2 separate regions of the Homo sapiens genome follow, and region 1 is linked to region 2. Evidence: promoter capture Hi-C in human tissues and cell types (Jung and others, 2019). All regions are on one chromosome and are shown on one strand. Each heading gives the region's core, a stretch centred on a gene start or on the middle of the fragment in contact. The rest is flanking DNA. Distances are from core to core; before and after follow the strand shown.

Evidence for each region. Contacts are between HindIII fragments. The study calls those that stand out against the background at their distance.
Region 1: a contact is called between the fragment with the promoter of EXTL1 here and a fragment that was not itself captured in region 2, in 2 of the 25 tissues and cell types used here (bladder and lymphoblastoid cells).

The regions. Positions count from the first base shown.
Region 1 is chr1:26,020,338-26,023,289 of GRCh38, forward strand. It overlaps EXTL1 (exostosin like glycosyltransferase 1), which reads left to right and starts at 1,438. Exons shown (of 11, transcript NM_004455.3): 1 at 1,438-2,952. The coding sequence starts at 2,310. The HindIII fragment of the contact is 12,554 bases long and covers 1-2,449 here.
Region 2 is chr1:25,835,412-25,838,654 of GRCh38, forward strand. It overlaps AUNIP (aurora kinase A and ninein interacting protein), which reads right to left. Exons shown (of 3, transcript NM_024037.3): 2 at 2,002-2,143; 3 at 1-435. Among named protein-coding and RNA genes, the nearest start is that of MTFR1L, 17 kb to the left of the region's middle. The HindIII fragment of the contact is 4,972 bases long and covers 1-3,243 here.

The DNA.
Region 1 (2,952 bases), core at 188-2,687, 180 kb after region 2:
GAGTGTCAGCTATGATTACTCTTACTCAGGGTTGTGTTCCTGGCCTAGCTCAGAACCTGGCCCATATTCAACACTCATAAGTGTTTGTTAGATGAATGGATGACTGTGTATGGGGATAGAGGGATGAAGGAATGACATGAGGACCTAGACGGGGGCTCTAACCCAGCCTGCGGAGCATTGGAGAAGCTTCTTGTGGGGAGGGAGCTTTCAGCTGACTCCTGCAGGATGAGGAGTTGGCTGGGCACAGTGAAAGGGGGGGCGTGCGAAGCAGCCAGTGGCCTTTGTGGATGCCTCTCAGTGTGGGAGGACTGAGTTATGCAGGAACTGCAGTTCATCACCGAGTGGCTGAGCCATTAGTGCCAAGAGGCAAGTGTCCCCTTTGTGGGCCATTTTTAGGACTCTCACACTGGCTGCTCACTGAGGGCAAAACATCCCACGGTGGCTCCCTGGTCTGATCAGCAGCCCTCCAAGATCAAGGGGAGGCACGCAGGGGAAAGGAGGCCACCACTTGTTGAGGGACCTCAGGGGACAGGCCTGCGTCAACCTGGCAACCCATTCCTGGCTGACATTATGCCCATCCCAGAGATAAGGGGACAGAGGCCCAACACCCCCGAGGCAGTCAGGGGAAGAGGCAGAACCCACTCAAGTCTGTCCACTCCCTGTGCCTTCCCTCATCAGCCCAGAACTCCTCATGGCCAGAGTGTGTCTCCCCCGTCACCCCAGAGATTCCTCAGTGGCTGACATCACCCACTCCTGACTCCCCTCACAGGGCACTGACCGGGGAAATCCCTCCATGGGGCCTGGACTATGGAAGAGTCAAGTGCAGGAAGAACTTTCCATAAGGACTGGAGCAAAAGGCTGGGAATTGGAGGAGATTGGGGGTGGGGCTGCTGAAGGAGGAGAGACCAATCCTGGGGACAGTTGGGGGCACCTTACCCAATTCCTCCACCCCCGCCCCTTAACTCCTCACTTGTCTCACCTGTTGACCTTCTCATGTGCCGATTCAGAGATTCCTCACACTCAGGCTCTGACCTCCACTGACTCTGATGGCCCACAGCAGGTGCAGGGTCTAGTTTTTCTCCAGCCACAGGGCCCACAGCTGGGGTGACCAACGACCAGGAGCTCAGGATTGAAATCCCCACCCTGCCACTTCTTAGCTGGGTCACCTTAGGAAGAGTTCATCCCCTCTCTGAGCTTTCCTCATCTGTAAGAAATGACAGGTAAATCTCTGCCTTGGAGGGTGGCTGGAGGACTGAGAGACAGAGGCTGTGATAACTCATGGCCAGCTGTGAGTTGCAGTACTTGCTGGTTGGATTAGCAATTGAGGAAACTGGTTTGGAAGGGGTTAAATGGAGACCCTGCCTCCCAGCCAGGAGCGAATCAGGGCTGGGAGGGGAGGAGCCAGGCTGCTGCTAAGGAAAGAGATCAGGATGGGCCAGTTGCCGACTGGAGAGGGATGGGAGGAGATACCATAGGGTTTGGGGGGCTTGGCACAGCGGCCCTGGCCTCTGCACTGTGATAGCTCCAAGCCAGATGGTGCAAGGCAGCTGCTGGGCTGCGGGGAAGAGGGGCTGCACTTCCTGAGCTGGTGCAGCGGCAGAGTGGATAAGGATCAGGACCCCGAGCCCTCCTGGCCCTCCAAGGCAGGGGGACACCGGCTGCACCCAGGCTGTGACCTCAGCTGACGCCGATGATCCACATGGGATGCAGGGTCTAATTTTAGCTCCAGCCACAGGGGCCACAGCCCAGAAGCGTCTGCCAGCGGGCACAGGGGCAGCCAGGGCTGCTCAGGCAAGGGGAGGAGTGGGAAGACCAGCCCAGCTCCCTCCAGCCTGTCCCTGGCCAAGCCGCCTCCTGTGGGAGCTCTGACTGGTCCCCATGGCCTGGCAGACAGCCCTCCTCTCAGTTGAGGGCAAGGTCAAGGGGTGCAGCCAGGAGGGCAGGGGGACACGGCCCTGCATTCTGGACAGGGGTTGCGTCAGCCAGAGCAGTGCCCAGGGGCAGGGGTCCCTGCTGGGAGGGAAAAGGCTGGCTTGGTTGTCCAAAGGCCGAGAAGGCAGAGTCCTGAGAGCAGGGGGGCCAGGCCAGCAAGCTGGGTCCCACCTGGCCTCCTCCTGCCTGGCTGGTGACTCACTATCTGACCTTAGACAGGCGGCCTGGTCTCGATGGGCCTCAGTCTTCCCATCTGTACAATGACAGCACAGGACTAGCAGGTCGGTCCCAGCTCTGGTCTCCCGCCCCAGGCCCTGCTCTTCCTGCTTGCTGGCAGAGGCCTCCCAGCTTCCCTAGCCCTGACTGTGGGTGGCCACATGCAGTCGTGGAGGAGAAGAAAGTCCCTGTGGCTGGCACTGTCAGCCTCCTGGCTCCTGCTTGTCCTGCTGGGAGGCTTCTCCCTTCTCCGCCTGGCATTGCCTCCCAGACCTCGGCCCGGGGCTTCCCAAGGCTGGCCCCGCTGGCTGGATGCAGAGCTCCTGCAGAGCTTCTCCCAGCCTGGAGAGCTCCCAGAAGATGCCGTTTCACCTCCTCAAGCCCCTCATGGTGGCAGCTGCAACTGGGAATCTTGCTTTGATACCTCAAAGTGCAGGGGCGATGGCCTTAAGGTATTCGTGTACCCAGCGGTTGGAACCATCTCTGAGACTCATCGCAGGATCCTGGCTTCCATTGAGGGCTCTCGCTTCTACACATTCAGCCCTGCTGGGGCCTGCCTCCTCCTCCTCCTCAGCCTGGACGCCCAGACTGGAGAGTGCAGCTCAATGCCTCTGCAATGGAACAGGGGCAGGAACCATCTGGTCCTCCGTCTCCACCCGGCTCCCTGCCCCAGGACCTTCCAGCTGGGACAGGCTATGGTGGCTGAGGCCAGCCCCACGGTGGACTCCTTCCGGCCCGGCTTTGATGTGGCCCTCCCTTTTCTCCCTGAAGCCCACCCGTTGCGAGGTGGGGCTCCTGGCCAGC
Region 2 (3,243 bases), core at 458-2,957:
CAGGTAGTTTGGTGTGTTTCTCCATACTCTGATAGTTCTTCTTAGACTCATGAAGCCATTCCCATTTCCTGGCAGAATCCCCTTTTTCTTCCTTTCGGTCTAGCAAACAAGAACTTTCCAAGTCCTCGGTGAAGGAAAAAGCCAGTGGGGTATGACTATCTCCAGCACAGTCTGGAGTATCAGGCTGGAGCAAAGATAGCTCAGTTGAAAATGGGGTTTTCATTCTGTGGTGGCCAGAAGTCTGGAGGGACTGAGGAGAGAGTCCAGCTTCCTGGATGTCTGCAGTGGTTGAAGTGGCTAAAGGGGATGCCATGCAATCGTGTGCTAAGCCTGGGATCAAATGGTCTAGCTGGGTCGCATTTTTCTTGGACTCTTTGTTGATCTGACTTTCTGTATGAGATGAAACACTCTTCTGGTCACTGCCATTTGTCTTTCCTAATAAAACAGGAATGAACAAATATTATTCTGCAGAAAAACTGCCCTAAGCAGGATTCAGTTGGCTTTTTCTGAAATCAGTATCAGCTACTATTACTACCTAGTGCAGGAGTCTTAAGACTCTTCACATAACTTTGTAGCCAATCTTCCTGTTTTCAATCTTGCCAGTCTATCATGAATAAACTCTAAAACATCAGATCTTATATTCCCTACTCAAATACATGGATACTTCCCATCACCTACCTAATAAAGTCAAACATCGCATACGATCAGACCATAGCCTACTTTACCAGCTGAGTTTTCATTTGTAGGTTTGTTTAACATACGGCACATCAGTTTTGCTTTTGTTTTTTATTTAATGTGGTTTTTTACTAAATGGTGATCCTGGTCAAATATACATTCCTAGACATTATCCTTAAAGAAACATGCTAAACACATACTAGTTTTGTAAGGTCTTAAAGATGACATTAACTATCCAACTCTGAGAAACCTTCTGGTGACAGTGTGAAAAACGTGGGTCCTCCACTCCCCAGGCATTTCATTGGAAAGGGAGTGAAGACACAATTAGGATGCTAAGTCAATCAGTAGGTAGAATAGTGAAACAACTACTAGTGTCCAGCCTGTTAATTTTATCAGGCATAGAGTGGATTCTGTTCTGCCTTAAGATAAGGATGGAGGACATGGAATTCCCAACTTGGCTCAAATTGTTCCAAGATCTAATTATAAAAACAAAGCAGAATAACTGATTTCCTCTTTCCTTCTACAATAAGAATTATACTGCAGAAACTAGGTTTTGTGAGAATTCTCAACTTTTCCTTAGCATTCAATATAGACTATAAAATACACCAGAATTTGTAAGTGGAAAAAGTGGGTTTTTTGTTTGTTTTTTTTAAATCTGCCCTTACATAAAGCAAAAGAGTGTACGTTTTTGTTTGGAGGAGGGAGAGGGCATTTTGAAGGTTTAGGCAAAGCAATCCTGAGAATCACACCCGGCATTAGAGCACTCTTCCCAACACCCTCCAAGTGGCAGGAACCCTGCTGTTTAAGGCCCAGCCTGCTCTGAGTCAGCTGCTCCCCTGAACAGGGACCTGGAAGCAAAGAACAGCCAAAGGAAGAGACATAAGCCAACTTTATGTGAGGCTAAGAAAAAGCATCTTTGAACCTTTCACTAATTTGAGAAGCGTCACACAAAAGTATCAATTATTAATTAACCTTAGACAGAGTACCCACTGTGGCCAACCCAAGATATATACCACCTAACTAATGGCAGGGCAACTCCCCAGTGCACCTCCAACTCCCAAGTACACCCTTCCTGACTGCTCTGTCAGCAAATACAAATATTTAATATTAAGCTGAGCAAAACAGAACCAGAAAAGTATGTTTGTAAAAGTACACATATATTGCTTTTCAAAAGGCAACAACTTATGTTTTATAACCTCTTCTAACAGGCTAAGTTTAACACAATGCACTGGTTTCACCATTTCTCATAAATGGTCTAACATGGACAAATGAACACACTCCTTTTTTGCTCTGGATAATGAAGTATTCCCATATGGGTCACCATACCTGGCTGCAAGGTGAAGAAGGAAGCAATGCTTCTCTGGTGAATGCCTGTAGATGGAGCTCTTCTTTGAGTAAAATAAATATTAGCCTTTCTTTCTCCAGGAAGGAGTGTTAGCATTTTGGTGCCTGGTTTGATTAAATGTGTCTGAGAAAGGAGAGAAAAAAGAATAATGAGCCTATTAATATTAAAAGACATACAGTAGAGATTCAGTACACACCAGTGATCCTCTGAGAACCACACTAGATCCTCTGTACTCCACTTATAGCCTATTCTCAAGGTAGTTGGTGCTGGACATCATCTTCCATTTCCAGCCATTGTAACGGTGTTTTTCTCAGGAATCACATATTCCAATGATAGCCCAATCTTTCTGCTTCCCCATGGAAATCAGGCTGACTAAACAAACAGGATTTGTTAACAGGATGGCAGAGATGATGCTCTTTTATATTTAAGGATAATTAATGATTCTACAGCAGCAGTTGATGCATTTTCAGTAGTTTTAAAGTAGTCACATAGTGGTGGTTAAGAGCATGGCTCAAGAATCAGTCCTTGGCCGGGCGCGGTGGCTCACGCCTGTAATCCCAGCACTTTGGGAGGCTGAGGCGGGCAGATAAGGAGGTCAGGAGTTCGAGACTAGCCTGACCAACATGGCGAAACCCCGTCTCTACTAAAAATACAAAAAAAAAAAAAAATCAGTCCTAGTTCTGCCACTGCCACTTTGCTATGTGACCTTCTCCAAGTTGCTTAATCTCATTCTTAGGTGTCAAATGACAATAATAGTACCTATCCATATGGCAGTTATGAAAATTTAGTAAGGCCAGGCGTGGTGGCTCACACCTGTAATCCCAACACTTTGGGAGGCCGAGGCGGGTGGATCACGAGGTCAGGAGTTCAAGACCAGCCTGGCCAATATGGTGAAACCCTGTCTCTACTAAAAATACAAAAATTAGCCAGGCGTGGTGGCAAGCGCCTGTAGCCCCAGCTACTTGGGAGGCTGAGGCAGAAGAATCGCTTTAACCAGGGAGGCGGAGGTTGCAATGAGCCGAGATTGTGCCACTGCACTCCAGCCTGGGCGACAGAGCAAGACTCCGTTTCAAAAAAAAAAAAGGAAAAAAGAAAATTTAGTAAATTTATTCACATAAAAGGCTTACACAGTTCCCGGCACATAGAAAACATTCAGTAGCAGTTGGCTAATATTAAGAGGAGGAGCAGTGGAACAGCACCAGTCTCACTACACTTTTAACTCA